Linked DNA regions of Homo sapiens: all the other regions are linked to region 3. Evidence: promoter capture Hi-C in human tissues and cell types (Jung and others, 2019). All regions are on one chromosome and are shown on one strand. Each heading gives the region's core, a stretch centred on a gene start or on the middle of the fragment in contact. The rest is flanking DNA. Distances are from core to core; before and after follow the strand shown.

What was found. Contacts are between HindIII fragments. The study calls those that stand out against the background at their distance.
Region 1: a contact is called between a fragment that was not itself captured here and the fragment with the promoter of CLIP1 in region 3, in 2 of the 25 tissues and cell types used here (IMR-90 fibroblasts and spleen).
Region 2: a contact is called between a fragment that was not itself captured here and the fragment with the promoter of CLIP1 in region 3, in 2 of the 25 tissues and cell types used here (hippocampus and pancreas).
Region 4: a contact is called between a fragment that was not itself captured here and the fragment with the promoter of CLIP1 in region 3, in 12 of the 25 tissues and cell types used here (H1 embryonic stem cells, IMR-90 fibroblasts, aorta and 9 more).
Region 5: a fragment that was not itself captured here is called in contact with the fragment with the promoter of CLIP1 in region 3 in 5 of the 25 tissues and cell types used here (H1 embryonic stem cells, aorta, mesenchymal stem cells and 2 more).

The regions. Positions count from the first base shown.
Region 1 is chr12:122,506,327-122,509,026 of GRCh38, forward strand. RSRC2 (arginine and serine rich coiled-coil 2) reads right to left here. Exons shown (of 10, transcript NM_023012.6): 8 at 1,892-2,121; 9 at 508-597. Among named protein-coding and RNA genes, the nearest start is that of ZCCHC8, 6.7 kb to the left of the region's middle. The HindIII fragment of the contact is 4,115 bases long and covers 1-2,700 here.
Region 2 is chr12:122,531,728-122,534,427 of GRCh38, forward strand. All of the region lies in intron 2 of KNTC1 (kinetochore associated 1), which reads left to right. Among named protein-coding and RNA genes, the nearest start is that of KNTC1, 5.8 kb to the left of the region's middle. The HindIII fragment of the contact is 6,906 bases long and covers 1-2,700 here.
Region 3 is chr12:122,421,188-122,423,929 of GRCh38, forward strand. It overlaps CLIP1 (CAP-Gly domain containing linker protein 1), which reads right to left and starts at 1,482. Exons shown (of 26, transcript NM_001247997.2): 1 at 1,334-1,482. RefSeq lists silencers at 779-1,178, 1,199-1,548 and an enhancer at 2,658-2,742. The HindIII fragment of the contact is 23,258 bases long and covers 1-2,742 here.
Region 4 is chr12:122,324,007-122,326,706 of GRCh38, forward strand. The region is part of intron 17 of CLIP1 (CAP-Gly domain containing linker protein 1); the gene reads right to left. Among named protein-coding and RNA genes, the nearest start is that of VPS33A, 59 kb to the left of the region's middle. The HindIII fragment of the contact is 8,257 bases long and covers 1-2,700 here.
Region 5 is chr12:122,343,550-122,346,249 of GRCh38, forward strand. The region is part of intron 10 of CLIP1 (CAP-Gly domain containing linker protein 1); the gene reads right to left. Among named protein-coding and RNA genes, the nearest start is that of CLIP1-AS1, 51 kb to the right of the region's middle. The HindIII fragment of the contact is 6,248 bases long and covers 1-2,700 here.

The sequences.
Region 1 (2,700 bases), core at 64-2,563, 85 kb after region 3:
TGTTCTTTCTAGGTCTGGAATATAGCAGGGTGTAACAAAAGTTAACTTCAGTTTAGTAGGTTGGAAAAAACATAATATGTAGAAGATGTCAGGGTATAAATGCCACAGAGGAAAGTAAAGTAGAAAATGGGGATGGAGGCTGGGCGCAGTGGCTCAGAACTGTGATCCAGGGCTTTGAGAGGCCGAGGTGGAAGGACTGCTTGAGCCTCGAAGTTTAAGGCTGCAGTGAGGTATGACTGCACCACTGTACTCCAGCCCAAGTGACAGAGCAAGCAGAGCAAAACCCCGTCTCTCTCTCTCTCTCCAAGTGTGTGTGTAGGGAGGACAGTGGGTAGGGGAGATGGAAATGTTTCAGAATGGGATTGCTTGTTATTTCACAAAAGGTGGTGGGAAAGAACTCAAAAACGCTGACACCTGAGTAAAGACCAGAACTAAGAAAATGAGGGAAGAACAGTGCAGGAGGGCTAATAGCTAATACAAAGATCCCCTGGCACATGTGAAACTCACCTTAATACCCATCAATTTCCTAAATTTGACATTTTGGTCCTTGTTTCCAAAATTCAATTTTTCCCATATTTCAGCAGATTGGGATTTGTCCTGTTAACAAACACTGAACTTTAAAATATGTAAAATTTAAATATTTTTTAGGACATGAAATCTCTCAACAATGTCTAAATTAAAAAAAAAAACACCATGGATAGCATTCAATCAATGTAAGTTTAATTATTTCAAGACTTAAGAAACCACAAAGCAAAGAAATACAAGCAAGAGGTTGGCGCCGTGCTTCACTCCTATAATCCCAGCACTTTGGAAGGCCGAGGTGGGCAAATCACCTGAGGTCAGGGGATCGAGACTAGCCTGGATGACTAGGTGAAACCCCGTCTCTACTAAAAATACAAAAAACTAGCCTGGCATGGTGGTGGGCACCTGTAGACCCAGGAGGGTCTCAGGAGTCTGAGGCAGGAGAATTGCTTGAACCTGGGAGGCAGAGGTTGCAGTGAGCTGAGATCACACCACTGCATTCCAGCCTGGGTGACAAGAGCAAGACTCTGTCTCAAAAATAATAAAAATAAAATAAAAAAATGGATTATTTTCCTGTCATAGACCTTTTTCAACATGCAATTTTTGCGACTGCATGTCATTTGCATTTAATGTCATTTGTCATTGCAAATAATGTCAAAAAAAAAAAAGTACCTCATAATCTATGAAAAATTCTAAACCAAGTAGCCTCTTTTCCTTACTACTTCTATGGTAATATTAGTTTTCTTTGAAAGCTTGACTTCAATCAATTATGTTTTATTTTAGTATTAATAACTGGCAAATAAGACTATCATAGCTTATTATAAGTTTTTTGAGACAGGGTCTCACCCAGGCTGAAGTGCAGTGGCGTGATTTTTTTTTTTTTTTTCCAGATGGAGTTTCGCTGGAAACTCACTGCAACCTCCGCCTCCCAGGATCAAGTGATTCTCCTGTTTCAGCCTCCCAAGTAGCTGGGATTACAGGTGCCCACCACCATGCCTGGCTAAGTGGCATGATCTTGGCTCACTGTATGTAGGCTCTGCATCCCAGGCTCAAGCGATTCTCCTGCCTCAGCCTCCCAAGCACCTGGGATTACAGGTGTGTGCCACCACACCCAGCTGATTTTTATCTTCTTTTCAGTAGAGACAGGGTTTTGCCATGTTGGCCAGGCTGGTCTTGGACTCCTTACCTCAACTGATCCGCTCACTTGGCATCCCAAAGTGCTGGGATTAAAGGCATAAGCCACCCGCGTCTGGCCACCCCAGGTTCTTACAAAGTTAAGCCGAAAGTAATATTTTTCAACCCAAATTTGTTTTTCTAAGCAATTACTAATTAGGAATAAACGACAGAAAAGCAGAATAAGAGAACTTACCCCTTCTTTCTTGCCCTGCCAAAGCATTTTCCTTTTTTTCTCTTGTTCAGCAAATTTCATTGGATTAACAGCGGCTGGGTTATAGTAGCTAGGAACAGCTATTCCTGTCTCTGCCAAAGCTTTAGCTTGCAGGGCTGCCATCTGAGCTGCCATGGCTATCTGAGGTGTTACTTGTGTTCCTGATGCCAACAGGGCAGCAACATTGAGAACAGAACCTCCAGTAGCTGCAGCTGCTTGAAGAGAATACAAAAATGGATTTTAAAACGATTTTAAAACATAAACCTCCTGATTTACATTAACGAACGATTTATAAAAAGCTATGAATGTGCAAAAAGGCAGGATTTTCACCAAATCCAAGGAAATGACTGAGTATTAGCTCACAAGTTTTTAGCAAACATTTATTGTGTTCATCAACGGACATATTTCTACATAAACCCTTGATATATAAACCATTTATTGCAAGGCGCAGTGGCTCACGCCTGTAATCCCAGCACTTTGGGAGGCTGAGGTGGGCGGATCACCTGAGGTTGGGAGTTCGAGACCAGCCTGACCAACATGGAGAAACCCCGTCTCTACCAAAAATACAAAATTAGCCGGGCGTGGTGGTACATGCCCGTAATCTCAGCTACTCGGGAGGCTGACGCAGGAGAATCACTTGAACCCAAAAGGCGAAGGTTGCAGTGAGTCGAGATCATGCCACTGCACTCCAGCCTGGGCAACAAGAGCGAAACTCCGTATCAAAACAAAAAAAAAACCCATTTATTTACTTTGAGGATAGAGAATTCTGCAAATAGTAAGAAAGTATGATT
Region 2 (2,700 bases), core at 185-2,684, 110 kb after region 3:
TTTAGTATTTTTGTTCGTTTGTTTGAGATGGAGTCTTGCTCTGTCGCCCAGGCTGGAGTACAGTGGCATGATCTCAGCTCACTGCAAGCTCTGCCTCCCAGGTTCACGCCATTCTCCTGCCTCAGCCTCTCAAGTAGCTGGGACTACAGGCGCCCGCCACTATGCCCAGCTAATTTTTTGTATTTTTAGTAGAGACGGGGTTTCACCATGTTAGCCAGGATGGTCTCGATCTCCTGACCTCGTGATCCGCCCGGCTCGGCCTCCCAAAGTGCTGGGATTACAGGCTTGAGCCACCGCACCCGGCCATTTGTTTTTTTTTTTTTTAAGAGAGACTCTCACTCTGTAGCCCAGGCTGGAGTACAGTGATGTGATATTGACTCATTACAACCTCCCACTCCTGGATTCAAGTGATTCTCCTGCCTCAGCCTCTGGAGTAGCTGGGATTATAGGCGCCTGCCACCACGCCTGGCTAATTTTTCTTTTTTTTTTTTTTTTTTTTTGAGACGAACTCTTGCTCTGTCACCAGGCTGGAGTGCAGTGGCGTGATCTTGGCTCATTGCAACCTCCGCCTCCTGGGTTCAAGCGATTCTTCTGCCTCACCCTCCCGAGTAACTGGGAATACAGACACGAGCCACCACACCCAGCTAATTTTTGTGTTTTTAGTAGAGATGAGGCTTCACCATGTTGAGCAGGATGGTCTCGATCTCTTGACCTTGTGATCCACCCACCTCGGCCTCCCAAAGTTCTGGGATTACAGGTGTGAATCACTGTGCCCGGGCTTTATTTTTTAATATTATCAGGAGCCTTAAAACGTGGAAGTGGCTCAGGCCTTTCTTGACCTCAAGGTTGCTGTTGAAAAATAATAGTGCATGTGTATAGAATCTTGGATTCTGGTAGGAACTAAAATTCTATCTATTATTAGCACGTGGCATACACTTACCAACATGTTTTGAACATCTGCTATGTTCTGAGCCCAATATTAGGAACTTGGACATAAGATGGCATCTTATTCATTCCTTTTAGGATCTTACCTTAAAGTTAGGCACACAGGACACAAACAATAAAAGATGCTTAGCTGTGCAAGTCAGTATATGCTAAATGCCAAATGAACAGTACAGACAGTAAATGAGTAGGAATTCAGTGGCTGGAGAGCTCATTGTCGGTTGGGCAGTTTAAGGAGCATTTCCTTAAGAAACTATGTGTGAGCCCGGTGTGGTGGCATGTCCTGTAGTCCCAGCTACTCAGGCTGAGGCAGGAGAATGGCGTGAGCCCAGGAGTTTGAGGCCAGCCTGGGCAACATAGGGAGACAACATCTCTAAAAAAAATAAAAATTAAAATAAACTACACTTGCTTTGGGCCTTAAGAAGGAGAACAGTCTAGAGAGAAGAGTCTAGAGAGAACAGTGTGGACAGATCCCTAGAAGATATAGTGCCGTTCCTTTTCTTTTTTTTTTTTTTGAGGCAGAGTCTTGCTCTGTTGCCCAGGCTGGAGTGCAGTGGTGTGATCTTGGCTCACTGCAACCTCTGCCTCTCGGGTTCAAGTGATTCTCGTGCCTCAGCCTCCCCAGTAGCTGGGATTACATGCGTCCGCCACCACGCCCGGCTAATTTTAGTGCCATTCCTTGTTGGCAGTGCCTTCATGTAACCTTTTACTAGTTGAAGAAGCAAGTAAAAAGATAAGAAGGAGGCTGGGCGCAGTGCCTCACATTTGTATTCCCGGCACTTTGGGTGGTTGGGATGGAAGGATCGTTTGAGTCCAGGAGTTCTAGACCAGCCTGGCCAACACAGTGAAAACCCCGTCTCTATAAAAGAAAAAGAAAATTAGCCAGGTGTGATGGTGTGCATGTGTAGTCCCAGCTACTTGGGTTGGGGAGGCACGAAGATCCCTTGAGCCCAGGTGTTTAAGGCTGCAGTGAGTTATGATGGCATCACTGCATTCCAACCTGAGCGACAGAGGGAGACCCTGTCTCAAAATAAAGAAAAAAATAAGGTAGAAGAGGGATCAGAATGTTGGGGAATTTTCAAGGATTACACCTGGAGAAGATGACTTTTGAAATAGTCATAAAATGAGGTGATTAGCTGTATTTTGTCAGGGAAGAATAGGACTGGTTAACATTTATTGAGCATATACTATGTGCAGGGCTCTCTCATAAGCCCTTTACGTGAATTCGTTTAATCTTTATTCAGGTGAACCTTGTAGGTATTATTATTGTTACTCTTTTACATGGAGTTAGTTGATGCATTTGCCTAAGATCACTTAGCTAGTAAGGGACTGAGCTTCCTCAACCACTAATCTGTCCCAGTGCTTCAAGACAGCTATGTGTGGGAGGCTCTTGGCAACAGAAACTGAATACTGGAGACTCTGATTTGGCTTGTCTACTGTTTTTAAAAATGTTGGCTTAGCTGCCAATATTTAAAAATCAGAACATTTCACATAAAGATCCAGCTTCTGTTGATGAATTGGGAGGTATGGCCATGCCAGTGCTGCATCCCCACCAGGCTTCCCACTGGCTGGTGTGAAGTAGACTCTATTCTTTCATGTCTGTGGGGGCATGGACCCTCCAGTTCACAGTTCACCACCGTTCCCCTGCCTAGCGTATCCACGACACCAAGACTTTATTCCAATCTTGATTAATTCATTATGTTAATACCTGGCTCCTGCAGCATAAAGTCAATCCTGAGGAAACAAGGACTTGAACAT
Region 3 (2,742 bases), core at 232-2,731:
GAAATAAAACACATAAAAAGCTAGCCCAGAGCCTGGCCACAAGATGCCTTCAATAAATGTTCATTGTTATAATTTACAGAGAAAAAAAGGCCCCAAGTCTGAGAAGCGACATGCCTGGGGATTCTTGCTAAAGGTTATCATTAAATCTAAAAGTCAAACAAACACATTCCTGACTCTGGGATACTCTCCTGATTCGTGGATACCATCGCTAACAGTAGTGACACAAATCAAATAATAAGAACAGCCAGAATCATAACCCTAATGACAGCAGTGGCCACAGCACTTAATACTTATAGAGCTGCTAGGGGCCACTGTCCTAAAAGAGGAAGAAGGCCAGGCTGCTGAATCACACACACACAATTACAGAATCTTCTCCACCCTTTGTTTTAAAAAACAGTTCACTGGCGCCCAAGTTTTGCTAAAAACAGGTATCTAAACCGATGACGGACAACGTGTAATTTCTTCATACCAAAGAGGTGGGGCTGTGCAGGGAGGAGGGGGTGGCGCTCGGCTCCTGCCAGATGGAAAAGCCACATGAAGTGGAGAAACAGCCGGATTCAGGATTCACCCCCGAATCAAAACCCGATTTTTGAAAGGCAGGACCTTCCAATTCGGGCAATCGCTAGGTTCTGCTTGTAAAATAACCTCTGAACAAGTGTCATCTGCCTTCCGCGCCAATCCCCTGCCGCGGTAGAAGGTTCGGATTACCGGGCAGCGGTGTGATTTCGGAAACCCGAGAGCGATCTGGCCACCTCCAGCCTTCCCCGGTCTCCGAGAATCACAGCCCCACTTGAGAGGAAAACAAAAGCCGGGGCAGCGGGGGAGGCCGGGCCAGGGTGCCCTCCATGCCGGATCGCGGGCGCCGGGCACCCGGGGCCTGAGGAATGCTCAGGTGACAGGCGCGGCGCCCGGGGCAACAGGTCCCGCCCGGCTTCGGCCTCCCGGGGTCCGGCCGATCCCACATCCGCCCCGGGGCCCAGGAGAGGGAGCGGGGCGCCAGGGAGAGAGCGGCGCCTGGGGCGGCGCAGGGGCAAGGAGTCCAAGCTCCATCTTGAGGCGGGCGGAGGAAGCGAAGGCCCGGCTCGGCGCTGACAGGGCCGCCACTTTTCCAGCTCCGGAGGAGCCCCCCAGGGACCCCCGGCCTCCGGCGCCGGCCACCCGAGACTCCCGCGGTCCCCTCCCGGACGGCTCCGGCGCGCGAGGCTCGGCCCCGCTCCCGGACGCCGGGCTTCGACCCCCGACCCGACCCTGGGCGGGCCCCGCAGGCCGGGAAGCCGGCAGGGGAGCAGGGGGTGCCGGGAAAGGGAGAGGGCCCGCGCCGCCCCCTGCTCACCTCCTCGGACGCCGCCGGTCGCCGCCACCTGTCCCACTGCAGCAGCAGCAGCCGCCGCGGCCGCCGCCTCCCGCCTCCCGGCTCGTCGGCTCGGGGCGGGGGAGAGCGTGACGCGCCGCCGCCGCCGCGGGGCCGGGCGGGCGCGCGCTGCCAGGAGAAGACGCCGCGCGGCTCCTCCCAGCGCTCCGCCGCCGCGCCCGCCCGGCCGGCCCGGCCGGCCCGGCCCCTCGAGTCCGCACCGGCCCTGCGGCCCGCGCCCGGCCCCGCGCCGCCCCGCCGCCTCTTTGTCTGCGCCCACCGCGGCCCCGGGAGGACCCTGGCCCCGGCGCGCCCGCCGCTCCGCCCTCGAACCCTCCCGAGCCCCGGCTTGGGGAGCAAGGTGCGAGGGAAAACCCACAGGCCTGCTCCGAGGGGCTTCTCGTCATTTCTGCAAAGTGTTCCCAGAATTTGCAAGTCACACCCAAGAGCCCCATTCAGCCTCGACCTCAGCCCGCTCTTTGGGGCTGATTCATTTGTTTGCCCTCCCCTTCCCGCCAGACAAGGGTGAGAAATCCTTTGAAACAGGCTGCAAGGCGCTTCCGAAGCAGGTTAAGTTGGGGATTGGGAAGGATCATCTCTGCCCTCGCCTCCCTCCAGGGAAAGACCCTGGATGAGGCGTCCCTGGAGAAAATGCTGAAAGGAACTGTAGAGCAGGTTAAGCTTGGGAAGAACTGTATCTGCTCCCCACTTCCCTCCGGGAACGACCGCGGGTTAAAAATCCTTTGAAACGATCCCAGGGTTTGCTCCGTTCGTTTGAGAAAAGCCCCTTTTATTCGCCCTGGCTGCTTGGACGGAAGCCCTGGTTAGTGTCCCATCCTCCTTCCCCCCTGGGATTTCCTTTAAAAGCTTTTGAAAGGGACAGGAGGGAAGGCTGCAACAGCCTGCTCGGGGCTGGGGTAGCAGAGGGCGGCCAGCATTTCACTCCCATGGACCATGGCAACCCCAGAAGCCTTACATCTCCAGGGAGGAATTTGCAGCTGTCGGGGAAGCCCAGGATTTTGTGGTGGATAAGGGGGCAGGGGCTTCCTCCTCCTTGCCAGTAGAAGAGAATAATCGGCGGGTGACCCCTCTAGCTGACCTTTATTCAAAGCACCGTGCTGCCTGGACCAGCAGGAAGAGGGAACTGCTCTGGTAATGCACGAAGTTCTGAACTATGTAAATTTGTCTCCTGGCCCCTCCTCTCCATTCATGTCTGAAATCCCTCGAAATGCTGTTACCTAATTCAACATCGCCCTAATTTACAGGCTGCAAGGTCAGGTGGTGGTGGTACTCCTGAAATCCCATATCCATATTCCTAATCTGAAAGGCGCGCCTCACCCCCTAATCTAAACAGTCTTCAGCTGTAATCAGCAAGCTGTGGAATCATAGAT
Region 4 (2,700 bases), core at 79-2,578, 97 kb before region 3:
ATTTTCCACATTTATCTTCAAGAGTTCTTCCTGTACAACATTGATTTCTTTAAGCAATTTCTCTCTCTCAACAGCCAAAGCTTCTTTATTGAGATGTTCCTGCTCATAATACTTTTCGGCATCTTGCTTTTCTTCTAAGAATTTCTCCTTTTCTAAATTAAGAGTTTCATTCACTGACCACAGTTTCTGCTGGTCTCCCTGAAGTAAAGCTATTTTGGCCTCCAATTCTACAAGCTTGGATAAAAGTGAACCGTTTTCTAACTTTAAATCATTTCCCTCCTGAGAAAGAAGCTGCTTCTCTGATTTCAGACCCCTCAGCTCTTCTGACATTAGTTCAATTTCTTTTTTGGCTGATGTTAACAAATAAGTTAGCGACTACAGAAACAAAAGATGGAAAGAATGGAAACAAAAATGAAATCAAGCAGACAAATGCAAGCCCAAATAACTTAATGTAACCTAAATGATAAAAACTTTACAATTTCTACAATAAACTTTATAGAAACTATCTGAATAACAAGGGAAAGAAACTAAACAGAGCCCATAAAAAGGTAAGTCAAAAGTGTAGTTTTGCAAAGTGCTTCTGTATCTGTTAGCTTATTTTATCTTTGAAACAACTTGTGAAATTATTCCCAGTAGCTACCTAGAAGATAAAAATAGTAGCTTGATTTTAATATCAGGGCATAAGATTCTTTCCTGCCATTCCAATTATCAAATTACTTTGAAAGCAGAAAGGATTCATAGAACAATTTTTAAAAATACAATTAAAAGAAGTACAAAAACTCAGTATATTTTAATGAAAAAAGGAAGGGGCATAACAAGGGAAAATAAACTACTGCCTTCCAAACTCACCACAGGACCTTACTTAAGGGTAGCTGAGGGGCTGAGAGTGATTTAGTCCCAATATCACATATAACTTAAAAACTACAGCCTAATTTCTAGGCTTTGCTGACTAAAAGGAATAGTTTTTTTTTTTTATTTACTGAATTATAAGATAATTTGACCACAGTGTCTATACCAGTGCTATCCAGAACTTTCTGCAATGATATAATTTTTTTTTTTTTTTTTTGAGACTGAGTCTCGCTCTATCTATTGCCCAGGCTGGAGTGCAATGGTGCGATCTTGGCTCACTGCAACCTCCGCCTCTGGGTTCAAGCTATTCTCATGCCTCAGCCTCCCAAGTAGCTGGGATTACAAGGCTCCGCCACCGTGCCCGGCTAATTTTTGTATTTTTAGTAGAGACGGGGTTTCACCATGTTGGCCAGGCTGGTCTCAAACTCCTGACCCCAAGTGATCCACCCACCTAGGCCTCCCGAAGTGCTGGGATTACAGGCATGAGCCACCACGCCCAGCTGATATAAATGTTCTTATTTGCACTCCCATCATGGTGACCATATGACTACTGAGCACCTGAAATGTGGTGAGTGCAACTGAGGAGCTAAATTTTTAATTAAAATGTAACAAATTTAAATTTATTTATTTATTTATTTATTTTGGAGGCAGAGTCTCACTCTGTGGCCCAGGCTGGAGGGAAGTGGCGCGATCTCGGCTCACTGCAACCTCTGCCTCCCAGTTTCAAGCGATCCTCTTTTAAGCATATACAAAAATAGAGAAAATAATGTAGACCGCATATATTCCCATATTAAGGTTTTTATTTTTATTTATTTTTTGAGACAGTCTCACTCTGTCACCCAGGCCAGAGTGCAGTGGCACCATCTCAGCTCACTGCAGCCTCCGCCTCCCAGGCTCAAAGGATTCTCCTGCCTCAGCCTCCTGAGTAGCTGGGACTACAGGTGTGTGCCACCACACCCAATTAATTTTTTGTATTTGTAGTAGAGACGGTCTCACGATGTTGTCCAGGGTGGTCTCAAACTCCTGTGCTCAGGCAATCTGCCCACCTTGGCCTCCCAAAGTGCTAGGATTACAGGCGTGAGCCACCAGAACTGGCTACAAATTTACATTTGAATGGCCTCACATGGCTGGTGGCTACTACATTAGGCAGCACAGCTATAGCCCACTGGCTCTTAAAAGTAGGGAATAGGAGGCTTCATGGGTTCCAGGAACCTTGTTGAGTGCACACGTAAACTTTCCTGAAAAAATATCTGTAGATTTCATTAGATTATTCCAAAGAGTCTGGGACTGATTACGATCCACTGAAATTAGATACTAGACACGTTTGGAGGGGAACAGTCCTGGCATTTTTAACTCAATGACTCTTGCACAAAACCAACCAACAAAATCAGTGAGACTGGCCAGGAATGGTGGCTCATGCCTGCAATCCCAGCACCTTGTGAGACTGGCCAGGAATGGTGGCTCACGCCTGCAACCCCAGCGCCTTGTGAGACTGGCCAGGAATGGTGGCTCACGCCTGCAACCCCAGCGCCTTGTGAGACTGGCCAGGAACGATGAATCACGCCTGCAATCCCAGCACCTTGGGAAGCTGAAGCAGGTGGATCGCTTGCATCCAGGGGTTCGAGACCAGCCTGAGCAACATAGCGAGACTCTGTCTCTACAAAAAATAAAAAATTAGCCAGGTGTAGTGGCACGTGCTTTTAGTCTCAGCTACTTGGGAAGCTGAGGCAAGGGGATCACTTGAGCCCGAGAGGTTGAGGCTGCAGTGAGCCATGACTGTGCCGCTGCACTCAGCCTGGGTGACAGAGTGAGACCTTGTCTCAAAAAAACAAACAACAACCGAGGAGACCT
Region 5 (2,700 bases), core at 145-2,644, 78 kb before region 3:
AACATCTTCTTCCCCTAACCCCCTAACCCAGTGGTTCTCAGACATTAGTACGCACATGAATCACCTGGAATGTACATCTAACCTGCAAGTTTCTACCTATTCCCATGTACTTCGATTCTATTTGAGCTCCGGGATAGTACCCAAGAATCTTCTTCCTTTAAATAAATACCCCAGGGCTAGAAAAACACTTTCTTAACCTGTGCCCTTTCATTGCTAGAAAATTACTTCCCTCTGCTACCTGCTATGCAGTCCATTTAGTACATAGGATGTGTGGAAAATAGCTTCCATCACAAAAATTCTTGGACTAATCTGGGAAATGAAAGGGAACAAAATAATTTTAAAACAGCAGTGAGTCCCATATTTCAAGGATCAAAACTCCTGTGATTGGCTGGGTGAGGTGGTACATGCCTATATACCTAGCACTTTGGGAGGCCAAGGCAAGAGGATCACTTGTGGCCAGGAGTTCAAGATCAGCCTGGGCAACACAGCGAGAACTCCATCTCTACAAAAAAATGTTAAATATTCTTCTGAATTTAAGACTCCTCTCCCACACTGCCTTTCTTTGAGACAGAAAATAACAGATATGTTTTCTTTCATTTCCTCTGTCCACCCTACAGGCTGTGACACCAATAAAGATTAAAATGCCCATAAGAGAAGAGGAAAAGAAAGCACTGAGTCTCCAAAACTGCATAATCAAAGTAAATAAAATTAAATATTTCAGAGCTGACTATAATTGCTGTGCTTCGTGGTTATAGACTCATCAGGTTAAAGATGTTAATTCATTTACACATGATTTTCTGGGGAAGGAAGAGTCCAAGAGTTTGTTACGTCAAAATAACATACAAAACATTAATAAACCCATCAGGATCTGGCAGAATTTGCTAAATAAAAGAAAAAAAAACACAAAACACTAATAAACCCCATTGCTGCAAGGTCTGTAGCATAAATACATTAAACCCAATAGGGCAATGGTTCTTAGTTACAACAAAACAGTCAAGTAGAGAAAAATGCCAAGTAAAAAATAAGTAAAAATAATAAATACCAATGTGATTTTACTTTCCGTGGCATTTCCCTATAAAGTACAGCAATTTATTTTTCATTTCCCAAAATCTGCCCTAATTCAAAACTATGTGGTATGTCTGCTTCTCCCACTAGTTTGAGACCATGAATTAAGTCAGAAATTATTTCTTATTCTTCCTAACATCTCTACAGCACCAAGCACACTGTTTGGAAACTGGATTTATTGGCTAGAAAGTATTCTAAAGCACTTCCTAAAAAGTAACATAGGTGATATGAAACTTACATGGGTAGCTGGTTATCTTAACACTTGGGAACCCAAGAGTGAGGATCAACAGAAGACATACTTCGTTATGGAAAGATATAAGCTTTACACTGAAATACTTGGATAAACCATGGTGTAACTGAATGCCTTATCTAGAGCAGGAAAAAAAACATCAAAATTGTTTGCTGACAAAACTAAGATACGGGAGAGGAGTTTACATGTTTTAAAAAAATATATTACTTCAAAAGCCATCACACTAAAGGAACTCAATCTCATTAGTCCATTGTATTTCCCGGATCAATTATTTGGCTCTCAGTTAATGAGGAAACAGCACCAAATTGCCACTTTTTTTTTTTTTTTTGAAACAGGGTCTTGCTCTATTGCCCAGGCTGGAGTGCAGAGACATGAACATGGCTCACTGCAAGCCTCGACCTCCTGGGCTCAAGAGATCCTTCCACCTCAGCCTGCCATGTAGCCACCACACCCAGCTAATTTTTTTTTTTATTTTTTGTAGAAGCAGGGTATCACCACCTTGCCCAGGCTGGTCTTGAATTCTTGGACTCAGGTGATCCTCCTGCCTTGGCCTCCCAAAGTGCTGGGATTACAGGCATGAAACACCATGCCTGGCCCACTCTTTTTTTGTTTTCTTACCAAATACACAGGAGAAATCTTTAGTTCAGAGGCCGATAGTTCCTTCTTCTTAAAAAATAAAAACACATGATTTAGAAAAGAAAAATTGTCTAGATTTTTAGATCAGTCAATTAATTCTCAACAAGAGAAATTTCTACAAACACTAGAAATTTTTTTAAAAATCAGGATAGCAAATTTGATTAGAGACAGAGTAATTTTTGGAATTCTAAAGTTAAGAATCTGGGCAATTTAGTCACTGACAGACAAATTCATGATTTAAAAGGGTATGTGACTACATATCTTACATGTAAGTGACTATTTCTTTTTCTTTTTTTTTTTTTGAGACAGAGTTTCGCTCTTGTTGCCCAGGCTGGAGTGCAATGGCGTGATCTCGGCTCACCGCAACCTCTGCCTCCCAGGTTCAAGTGATTCTCCTGCCTCAGCCTCCCTAGTAGCTGGGATTACAGGCATGTGTCACCACGCCCGGATAATTTTAGTATTTTTAGTAGAGATGGGGTTTCTCCATGTTGGCCAGGCTGGTCTCAAACTCCCAACCTCAGGTGATCCACCCACCTCAGCCTCCCAAAGTGCTGGGATTACAGGCATGAGCCACCGCGCCTGGCCATTTCTTAATCTTTACGCACAAAACAACTTCCATAATAGACGGACTCCATCCTGTGGTGCTTAAGAGCACAGACTCTGGGGCCAAATGTCCTAGATGCAAATCCTGCCTCCATTATTACTATTTGCTGTTTTATCTTAGGCAAGTTATTTAACTTCTCTGCGCC